2 separate regions of the Homo sapiens genome follow, and region 2 is linked to region 1. The links are contacts of gene promoters, found by promoter capture Hi-C in human tissues and cell types (Jung and others, 2019). All regions are on one chromosome and are shown on one strand. Each heading gives the region's core, a stretch centred on a gene start or on the middle of the fragment in contact. The rest is flanking DNA. Distances are from core to core; before and after follow the strand shown.

Region 1 (5,489 bases), core at 246-2,745:
GCCTGGCCGCAGCAGGGTTTGCGCAGTGTCCAAGAAGCTGCGGGTGGGCAGGCGGCCTCGGAACCTGCCTTGCTGGCTTCCTCGAATTGGTAGCGATCAGTTCTAGCCGCCGTGCCCGCCCGAATTTGTTCCCAGGCCTCTGCTCCTCAACAAACCTATGAATTCTCTCCCGGCTGGCAGCGGCCCTTCGCCCAGCGCTTCGCCCAGCGCCTGCGGCCTCCCGGGAATCGCCCGGGCTCCTGCCTTGGGCTGGGGGGTCTCCCAGAAGGCCCCTTTCTGCAGCGGGGCCGGCCTCCCTCCCCGATCCTGGGATGGCCTGCGGGATGATCCCGCACTCATCTCGTCCACTCCCTTGTGCCCGCGGTAGCGCAGCATTTCCTAACTTTTCCACGAGGGAACCTCTCCGCCCTGGCCGCGCCGGCAAGTTGTGCTGAAAAAATAAAGTGAAGTCAGATTCCTGAGGGTCCGCAGTATCCCATTTTAAAATCAAGGCCCTCGATCCCAGACTCCACTTTCCTGGCGCAAAGAAAGAAAGGCACCAGAAACCCGGGTCGTGGGTGGGCTGCAGAAAGAAGGTCCAGGACCCTCCTCCGATTGTACGCAAAAGCTGTCTGGTGAGCAACATTTCAATTTCTGTTTAGCGGTTCTCATCAGATCTTTAAAAAGATTCGTAAATCCAAAGGAGATTTAAAAACAGAGATTATCTGCTTGTCTCTCTGTTCTGTCTACCATAAACCGATTTCTCAACTTCCTACCAGACCCAGGAGCAGAGCCGAAGCCGCCCGGGGCTTTGTTAGGCCGGGGGGAAACGTTTTTTGGTCTCTTGCTTCTGATCCTTTCAATCCGGCATTTCCTCTGAACCTCCGATTGGACGCGGGGCGCGGGAGCCTGGCGACAACACCAGGCATCTTACATTCTGAACCCCCCGCCGCAGCCCAGCCCTCGGCCCAAGGGCGCGTGTCTCCTCCTCCTGGCCCTGAGTTTCTTGGGGACGAAAGCGACCCAGGAGGGGAGAAGGGGGCCTGTGTTTCCTCCTCACCTTTCTTTTCGGCTCTAGGGTCCTTGGCTGGGTCGGGGTCGCTGTAGGCACGTGGATAGAAGGCGGGGGCGGCGGGAAAGGCAGACGCACACTTGGCCGGTGAAGGCGCGCGGCCCAGCTCTGCGCGCAGCTCTGGGAGGCCCGGCGCAGCCGCCTCGGGCCCAGCGTAGGCCTCTGGCTTGAAGGCGGCCAGCATGCAGGAGGAGGGCGCCAGGGTCGCCTCCAGGCGGGCAGAGAGCTCTCCGGCGGCAGCCAGGCTGCGCTGCTGCTGTTCCAGGTTTAGGATGTCTTTGACTGAGAAGGGCGTGGGCGTGAGAGCAGGGCTGGGGAACATGGTGGCAGCGCCAGTCTCACAGCGCCAGGTGGGCGGCAGAAAGCGGCGCTGCCCACGGCCCCTGGCAGCTTCCCTGCATGGTGCCGCCGCCCGCCCGCGCACCCGTCGGCCAGCTCTGGATGTGTCCGGGCAGCAGGTAGCGCTGAGCACAAGGGGCAGGAGAGGCGGGACCAGGCCAGAGGAGGGGGACTCAGCCTGCCATTGGGCCAGGGGCCTCGATGACAGGAGCGATGAGCAGTTTCGTGTCACCTAATATAGTCATACGGCAAAAAAAAAAAAAAAAAAAAAAAAAAAAAAAAAAAAAAAAAGCCCTGCCCAGCTTTTTTAAAGGGGCCACGACGCATTTGGAAGGGTCTCCTTTTGCTCCTGCAGCCTGCGTTTGCTCCCTAATGTGAGCCTGAAAAGCCTACCAGAGGCATGCAGAGTCAGGCCTCTGGGCAGGGCTGGATGGGTGTGGGTTTGAAGAAATATTCCTCAGCACCCAAACCAGCATGGGAGAGAGAAGGATGGGGTGGGAAGCGGTGGGGAGGAGAGTGATTTGAGGAAGGCTTTATTACTGAAGGTGGTGGGATGAGGGAGAGTCTGAATAGGAAGAGAAGCCTGGAGGACAGGGCTGGCTTTGGGGATAGCAGCAGGGCGAGATTCTGGACAATTCGGGGGTTTGGTTTGGCTTGGCCTACAGGGTCAGTCATGCCGCAGGCTCTGGGTGCTTCTGGGCGAGTCAACGAAAGTAAGGGCAAGGTGAGTGATGGCCAGGTGGGGTAGGAGTTGCTGCCTCCTACAGTAGTGTTATGCACAGCACAACTCCAGGGGGCATCAGTCACTGCCAGTACCCTCCCAGGGAAATGCCTCTCCCCTTAATAATGAAATAAATCAGGAATCCCAGCTGGTAAGCTCAGCTTCCCAGGAGACACCTGTCTTGTGGAGTGCCCCAGCTACCAGCCACCTTGTTTCCCCTGTTTGGAGGCCATCGATCCCACCTCCCTCCTTCCCGTGCCCTCCCTGCCTGGCAGCAAGGCCCTCAGGCTTCTGCCAACCTCGAGGTTTCAGGGTCCTAGCCCAGGTTTAGCTCTCAGGGAGGCGGGGCTCCTCTGAGCCCAGCTAGGCCAGGATTTCTCTGAGGCCTCTGGGCCGGACTTCCAGTGGGGCACCCCTGCGGCTCGGTCAGGCGCGTGGGGGAAGGGCAGGGCAAGTGGGGTGATCATGATCATTTTTAGCCCAGGGTCAGTAGAGTAGGGCACAGAAGTCAGACAAATCTGCCAGAGTTTCAGGAGCGCCAGCTACATGGCCAGATCCTGCCCGGGTGGCCTCATTTCTCTGGGTCCCCGCACTCCTTGGGAGGTCTGATGAAAGCTTGGGGTCTTCTCCATTCCCCAGAACACTGCAGAGAGGAGTTTTATTTTGCTTACAATTCAGGAGTCCGGGCAGGCAGAGCGGGCCCAGGTTAAGGACGCCTTCTAGAGCTGGGGATGACAGGATTTGTCAGTGGAAAAGCGTTGGCTTCTCACGGCCCTAGCTGGTACAGGGAACCGCGGGCGGGAAGCTGGGCGGGACGCGTGGACTTGCTGAGAATGGGGATGTGGAGGGCTTGGCTCTTTGCGGAGTGCGGGTTGGCAAGAGGCGCTTGGAGTAGAATAAAGGCGGCGCAGGGCCAAAAACTACCTAAAGACACAGCTCCCGCAGGCGCGCCCAAGGTGCGGAGGAAACGCTCCATGTATGGGGACAAAATAGTGTCTGTCCAGAACGTACATCTTGGGTGCTCAAACCCGACAGTGTGCCGTCTGAGACGCCGACGCAAGTGAAGTCAAGCATTGGCCTGATGTTGGGACTTTTCCTGTCCCTCATCAAAGCCACACTCCCAGGACCTGGGGCCTCCATGCTGGGGAGAGAGGTGAGCCCCGCAGGGCAGCCCAGGAGGCGCGCAACGCCCTGACCCCGGCTTCTAGGCGCCAGCCGTCAGTAACAGGCCTGGGCTGCCACGCCGAAATCACGCCTCGAGTTTCTGAGCCAGGGACTACTGGGGGTCTGGAATTGTTAGTCTAGTCTGTGGAGGATGCCTTTTCTTAAATGTGGGGCGTTCAAGGCCCAGGAAACCTCGTCCCCCCACCTCTTCACCTCCCAACCCAAATTCTCCTTGGACGGAGCTGCATGTCAGCGGCCTTGCGGCCCTTCCTCGCCTGGACTTTTGGCCACGTTACCGTTATGGCTGTAAATTAACCTAGCTTGGGGGCCCGCCTTGCCTTTGAAGATTGTTTTCGAGCGCGGGCGGGGGGGGGTGTCGTTGGAGAGGATGCCTATCGCCGAGGCGGTGACGTCTGGCAAACGAGCCACATCCGATTCAATTAAATGTCTCGCTGAAAAGAGCTCGGAACGAGGGTCCTGGGAGCGCTGTTAAGTGAATCTGCTGGCCAGGCGGCTCGCGATGACAGTTTGAAAGATTAGTGTGAGCGGACGCCTGAAATATTACCGTTTAATGGGGGACATCGAGGCTACATCCGGGATCCCTGTTTTTAGTAAGGTTTTTTTTTTTTTTTTTTTGAGAGCTCTGGAGAAAGAAAAAAATTAGCATTGCCCTTGCAAATCAAGGTGGCAAGGATTTATTTCCTATTTTCGGGTAAGGGGGCTTCCTAGAACTGTCAGTCCTGTGGGTCAGGTGTTACAAAAAGGGAAGGAAAAAAAACTCTCCCTATTTGAACAAGATCAGTGACTGTTACACTCTCTATGCTCTTTGTGAATCGGGTAATGATTTCTCTTGGCTTCCAAAAAGGTCTTGGTGTTGCAGGAGAGAGGAGATGGGGCAAAAACGGACAAATACGTGCAAAATAGAAATTGGGGCGACCCATGCTGGTCTCCTTAGAGGAAAGTCCGAGAGCCATTTGCAGCTTTTCTTTCCAGTCCTCACTGTTTCCGAGTGAGTTAAAAAAAAATCCCTCTAAATAGATCTAAATAGAAATTGCAATAGTTGGGGGTTGGGTGGGAGGAAACTTGATTCTCTGGCCCCCAACAGGGACACATCTTTTTTTCCCAAGGGCCGCTGACCCAACCTGGCCGCCTCTCTGCGCCGCACTTTGACCAAACTAGCAGGACAAACAAACAGCCTTCAGCCTAGAGAAAGGCAGAGAGAGACAAAAGGAGAGAGAAGAGATCGAAAATCTATCTGTGTATTTCCTTGACTTTTAAAGAGTTGGTGCTTTAAGATAATCCAAATTCCAGGGTGGCTCGAGCGCATTCTCCGTGAATAAATTATTATTAATTGAAAAGCGATCGGCGCAGCCGGAGCCGGCCCCCCTTTCGTGCAATCAGCAGGGCTGGTCGCAAAAGGTATATATGATTAATTGAAAGATAAGCTGGAACTATCACCGGGAATGTCATTAATGCGCTGGGGAGACGTCCATTGGAGACAGGCGGCGTTATCCGCGGCTTTATCTTCAACAACGCCTCGCTCTCGGCCCGCGCGGGGGAAACAGATGGGAGTTTCTGTCTGGGACGCTCGCCCCATGTTTATATTTTGGGAAGAATCGCAACTCGTGGGAGTCCCCGGCTGGCCCCCTGATAAATGAACATTAGCACTTTTTCGGACTACTGTATCAACAAAGGGGCTGCGGCGCTGCAATAATTGGCGAGAAAGCAAACAGAGGGCCGAGAGCGCGACTCTGCTCTTCGTCCGGCTGATGGATGAGCAGCTCCGGCTGCGCGCCGGACTCCCGGCCTCGGCCTCCGCCTCCGCCTCCGCCTCCGCCTCCGCGCTGGGCCCCTCCGCCGCCCGGCTTCCTTCCTGGCCGGGAGTTGGGGGCGGGGGGCGACTCTGAGGGCCGCCGACCTCGCCCTTGGCTCCGGAAGAGTCCAGGCGGCCTCCGCGGCACCGGATTTTTCCTGCCTCGGGACTCGCCTCATTCAGGTGGCTCAGCTGGCACCAAATCCTTCTCATTTCCACGCTTGTTCAGTGCCCACGGGGTGTGCCAGGCGCTCTCACGGATCTCGTCACGGATCCTCTTATTCCGACTGCAGGCCTGAGGAGAATGAGGTTCAGAGACGTGGAGTAAGTTGCTCAGGGTCACACAGATGGGAAAGGACAGTGTCAGGGTGTTAGGATTCGAACACACAGCTGACTGCACA
Region 2 (5,489 bases), core at 1,332-3,831, 53 kb before region 1:
CGGAATCCTGGGCAGCTCTGGGACCAGGTCCTGCCTCAGGGACTCACAGACCCAGGCCTCCATTCCTGCCCTGCTATCTCTGTGGATGTCTAGAAGCAGCTTCTCCTCAGCCTCTTCCCAACAGGATACATGGCCATTAAGGGGACAGAGGGAGCTGTCTCCCAAACCTAGTAAGAAAGATCCCAGGCAAGGATTCATGGGACACAGAAGCTGGAACCTCAAAGTCGTGTTCAAACCTCCTTATTTCCGATATCATCACCTCTGGAGGATGACCTTTCTACTTCAAAAATGAGTTTACTTTTGGCCTTCCCCTTCCTTTTTGCTTCCTGCTGACCTTGGCTGGCTTATTACAGACTCCTTCTGAGTGATCTCCCTACCCCAGGCTTAAGGGATGGGTTTACTTAAGAGGAAGAAACCTAGCACATTCCAAGAATGTGAGGGAAGGGAAGAGGAAGGATGAGAACAGGTTGGGCGAGGTCATGGAGGAGGCAAGGTGTCTCGACTCAATGGAGGATTCAACATGGAAACGAGGTTCAAGTTCAGCACCAAGGGCATCTGTCGGGGAGATCTGCTGTCTTGGCTTCCCTTTTATGAGGAGACAAGGTCTTCTGCTGAGAGCAGAGGGTCTAAGGTGGAGTTCAGTGCTGAGAAGATGCAGAAAACGGGGACTGAGGGGCCAATGGGTAGGATGACTGGTTGGTGTTAGAGTGCCACTGGGGTGCTTGGGAACTTTGGTTCAGGAAAGCACTGTGCAGTCCTTTTAAAAGATGTCTGCAAGTTTATTAGCAGTCCACTCAAAAGGTGGAGTCTAAGTTTTCTCACCTTGAATATGGTTGACTTGTTTCTAATAATAGGCTGTGGTGGAGGTGATGCTGTGTGATATCTGGGACCAGGAGAGAAGGCAATATAGAATCCCCCTGGTTCTCTTTCTTGGGACACTCACCCCTGGAACCCAGCCACCGACGCTGTGAGGAAGGAAGCCTGGGCCACATGGGGAGACCACTTACTGGTGTTGTAGCTTGGCTGAGCTCCCAGTCAGCAGCCAGCATCAAATGCCAGACACATGAGCAAGCTCCTCATTGACTCCAGCACCAGCTACCATCTGACTACAACCACAGGAAAGACCTCAAGGAAGAGGCACCCTGCTGAGCCCAGCCAATCCCCAGAAGTGGGAGAGAGAATTGTGATGAATGGATGTTGTTCCTTGATGCCACTAAGTTTGGGGTGATTTGTTAGGCAGCACTAGATAGCTGGAGCATGCTGCTATACCACTCTCAGAAAGTCAGTTTCTTTGGTTGGTTTTGTCCTTACTGAATGAACATCAGGTTTTTTTTTCTGATAATAAAAGTGATACTTGCTCATTTTAGAAAATTTGGAAAACTGAAAAAATTCTGAAGAAGGAAAAAAATGGCCTGAAAACCACTATACCCAGAGATAATCGCTGGCACACAACAGGTGCTCAATATTTACAGAATAGGTGAAGGAACCTGATGGGTGGAGTGTATTTGGGTTGACCCCCTCTCCTCCCCACAGCTGGGCATTTAGGTTGTTTGTAGGTTTTAGAGTGGTAAATTCTTTCCTTTTTCTTTTGTAGCCACATTAGAAGATAAAAATGGTCAATTCTTTTTTTTTAGGTAATTTTTTATTTTTATGGATTTAGGGGTACAAGGGCAGTTGTGTTACATGGATATATTGTGTAATGGTGAAATCTGGGCTTTTAGTGCTCTCCTTACCTGAGTAGTGTACATTGTTAAGAAGTGGTCCATTCTTTACTTCTGGAGTTCACTGTGTCAAGCAAGAGAGAAGAAGGGAAATAGAGTGAATTAGAGTCAGGCAAGCCACCCTGAGGTTCGGAACCTCAAACATTAAGTCTTTCCCAGGCAGAGAAGCATTTTCCAGAGCCTCCAGCTTCTTCCTACCTAGAGCACTGATTCACCCCAGAGGACACGCTGGGTCAGGAAAGAGATTGCAAACATTTTCCTTCTGGAGAATAGATTTACACAGGAAGGAAAGCTCCTGTGATAAAGTTTACATCCATCTTTCAGCCTTGCCGCTCACGTTACACAGCATCATGTTGACTTCAAACACTCCTAGACGGCAAGTGCGGGCACTGCCGTCTGCTACTCTCTGGAACAAATGTGGTTGTATGATCCCGGGACCTATAAGGAATGTGGCAGATAAATGCAACAACCGAACCCAAATTATTTACCATTTTCTAAACCAAAAACCTGGAAAGGGGACAGCAGAGATAATGTTGAGCAGATCATGTTAATGATCCAGAATTTTATCAACCCTGCAACTACAAACACTTCCAATTCCATCTGGCTTGAAAGACGCCACTCACAAAGTTAATATTTTTTCTTGTGCATATTTTAGTACATTTGGAATTGCTTTCTTCCCCCATTTTGTAGCAGTGACATAACTGGTAAAATAGGTGTGAGGCAGGGTTTGAGGTGGATCCCCCTGATTAATCAGAAGTACTTCCCTCCTTTCTTTAGGGAAGTGGGCCTAGATAAGCAGAGATGAGATTATTTGGTTCTGGTAGGGATGGCCTGGGAGAAGGACCCTTACTTTTCCCCACAGGGTACAGAAGCCAGGGGTTGAGGGACCAATGCCCTGCAGTGGGCATCTACTGTATCTGTCTGCCCAGCACCCATTCCCTTTCATCTGGGATCAACATCTAGTTTTCTTTTGAGAAACCATCACTCCCCAACTCAGTCCACATGGGGACAGAGCTGACACAACCCCTGATGCCAGGGTTGAAGAGGTGACCTGGATGGTCAGGGTCAGAGTGATTGGCTCACATAACCAAACTAGGCAACTGAGCATCAGTCCTGGGTTGTCTCATGAATTCCGAGGAAAACAGCATTCTCTTTCTCTAGGGTCACCAAGCTGCCAGGAAGGGATCCTGGAGCTACGGTGATACCATCTTTAAGGGAGCCTGTCTAAGAGGAGAGCCGAGCTGAGAGGCAGAGAGATAGCATCCTATTCACATAATTTGAGCCTCTGGATCCAGCCATGCCTGAAACCCATCAAATCTCTGGTCTTCCTATTTAGGTCAGCCAAAAACTAATTTCTTTTACTTGGGTTTCTGTCACTTACAACCCAATGGGTCCTTAGTACTATAACCCCTGTGTGCCTTATTGGAAGAGGGAGAGATTAAGAGAGATGAAACTGGCAGGCCAGCCATCCCCCCAGTTAGGCTTCCAGAGAGGAGACCTCCACATCAGTATGGTCAAAAGTATAAACATGTCTGTCCGGAGCTCTTCCTGCAGTGGGCCCAGGCATTGGCCTTTGTGGCTTACTTTTACCACCATCATTTTGATAGACTGTGAACTGGTATAAATATTGCTCAAAATCCAGAGCTGGAATAAAAATTGCCCCCAAATCTGGAATTTGGCCCTTCTTTTTAATTTTTATGTATTTATTTTTGAGACAGGATCTTGCTCTGTCACCCACAGTGGTGCCATCATGGCTCACTGCAGCCTCAACCTTCTAGGTTCAAGCGATCCTCCCACCTCAGTCTACTGAGTAGCTGGAACTACAGGTGCATGCCACCACCATACCTGGCTAATTTTTAAATTTTTTGTAGAGACAGAGTCCCACTATGTTGCCTAGGCTGGTCTCCAACTCCTGGGCTCAAAGGATCCTCCAGCCTCGGCCTCCCAAAGTGTTGAGATTATAAGTGTGAGCCACTGTGCCTGGCTGGATTCGGCCCTCCTTGACATCAAGCCTGTTCCTCAGCTTAACTGCAGGCACTGACCCAGACCAGGTCTGCCTGAGCATAGTAGATAAGTGAAGGATGCCTACGTGAGTCAGGCCAGTGATCAAGAATAAAGAAACTGAATGTTGGCCGGGCGTGGTGGGTCACGCCTGTAATCCCAGCACTTTGAGAGACCAAGGCGGCTGGATCACCTGAGGTCAGGAGTTTGAGACCATCCCAACCAATATGGTGAAACCCCATCTCTACTAAAATTACAAAAATTAGCCAGGCGTGGTTGCGGCGCCTGCAATCCCAGCTACTTGGGAGGCTAAGGCAGGAGAATTGCTTGAGCCCGGGAGGTGGAGGTTGCAGTGAGCCGACATCCTGCCACTGCACTCCAGCCTGGGTGACAGAGTGAGACTCTCTGTCTCAAAAAAAAAAAAAAAGAAAAAAAAAAAGAAAAAAAAAAGAAATTGGATGTTAAAACCTTTACCAACCCCAGGTGAGTTCTGCCACCTGCATTCCCCATTTTGGTTGCAACCAAGTGACCACGTGGAAGCTTCTCCTACTCTTGCTACTGGCCCCTAGGGCTCCCCAAAAGAAACTCAGCCTCTTCATGTCTCCTTCATCTTTCTCTCTTCTGGGGGTCATGTCCAAGGCTCCCATTTGTACATTTGGCCTCTGCCTACCTTGGGCCTCCCTGTGCCTTGCTTGGGTCATTCTGGCAGCTTCTGACTGGGCCCAATGCAGCCGGACTTTCCTCATTCAAGTTGGTGCCCTGCGTCAGCCCCTCTCTTTCAGAGGCACATGCCATGGCCTCCTTGAGAATTCTCCAGTGGCCTCCCTGCCCGAGGCGAGGGCACAACACAGATGTCCTCAGGCCAAGCAGAGACATGGGCCCAGTGACATCACATTTTCAGATTTTTCTAGAAAAGCCAGATACTTGAATTTTGGGGGGTAATTCACTTGATTTTTATGTGTTAGCCATTAATTAACAAAAAACAGTCCAGGCACAGTGGCTTATGCTTGTAATCCCAGCACTTTGGGAGGCTGAGGCGGGTGGATCACCTGAGGTCAGGAGTTCTAGACCAGCCTGACCAACATGGTGAAACCCCATCTCTACTACAAATACAAAAAAAATAAGCCGGGTGTGGTGCGGGCGCCTGTAATCCCAGCTACTCGGGAGGCTGAGGCAGGAGAATCAGCTGAACCCGGGAGGCAGAGGTTGCAGTGAGCTGAGATCGTGCCACTGCACTCCAGCCTGGGTGACAGAGCGAGACTCTGTCTCAAAAAAAAAACACCAAAAACCAAAAAAAACCAACCAAACAAACAAAAACAAGCAAACAAAAAAACAAACAAAACAGAAAACAAACAAGCCAAAAAAAAAAATCCCCAAAACAAACACACAAAACCTGCTGTCTTTGTGCAGGATGATCACTCGGGAGACTAATTTGGCAATATCTAGTAAGGCTGAATTTGTGTCTGCTCCATACCTTGGTCTTTCCACACCGAGGTAGGTACCTGAGAGCAGGCGTATTCAAAATTTGGTCTCAGTAATCCTTTATTCCCTTAAAAATTACTGAGGACTCCAAAAGAGTTTTTGTTTATTGGATATTAATATTTACCCTATTAGAAATTAAAACTGAGAAATATTAAAAGTATTTATTTACTAATTAAACAACAGTGCTAAATCAATCACAATGTAACATAACATCTTTTTAGTAAAAAATAACCATGCTTTTTCAAAATGAAAAAATTAATGAGAAGAAGGCACTGTTTTGCATTT

Evidence for each region. Contacts are between HindIII fragments. The study calls those that stand out against the background at their distance.
Region 2: a fragment that was not itself captured here is called in contact with the fragment with the promoter of NKX2-5 in region 1 in 2 of the 25 tissues and cell types used here (IMR-90 fibroblasts and mesendoderm cells).

What each region holds. Positions count from the first base shown.
Region 1 is chr5:173,233,711-173,239,199 of GRCh38, forward strand. It overlaps NKX2-5 (NK2 homeobox 5), which reads right to left and starts at 1,496. Exons shown (of 2, transcript NM_004387.4): 1 at 1,040-1,496. The coding sequence starts at 1,373. RefSeq lists enhancers at 1-175, 4,992-5,489. The HindIII fragment of the contact is 11,596 bases long and covers 1-4,502 here.
Region 2 is chr5:173,179,432-173,184,920 of GRCh38, forward strand. No RefSeq gene overlaps it. Among named protein-coding and RNA genes, the nearest start is that of BNIP1, 38 kb to the left of the region's middle. The HindIII fragment of the contact is 6,526 bases long and covers 1-5,489 here.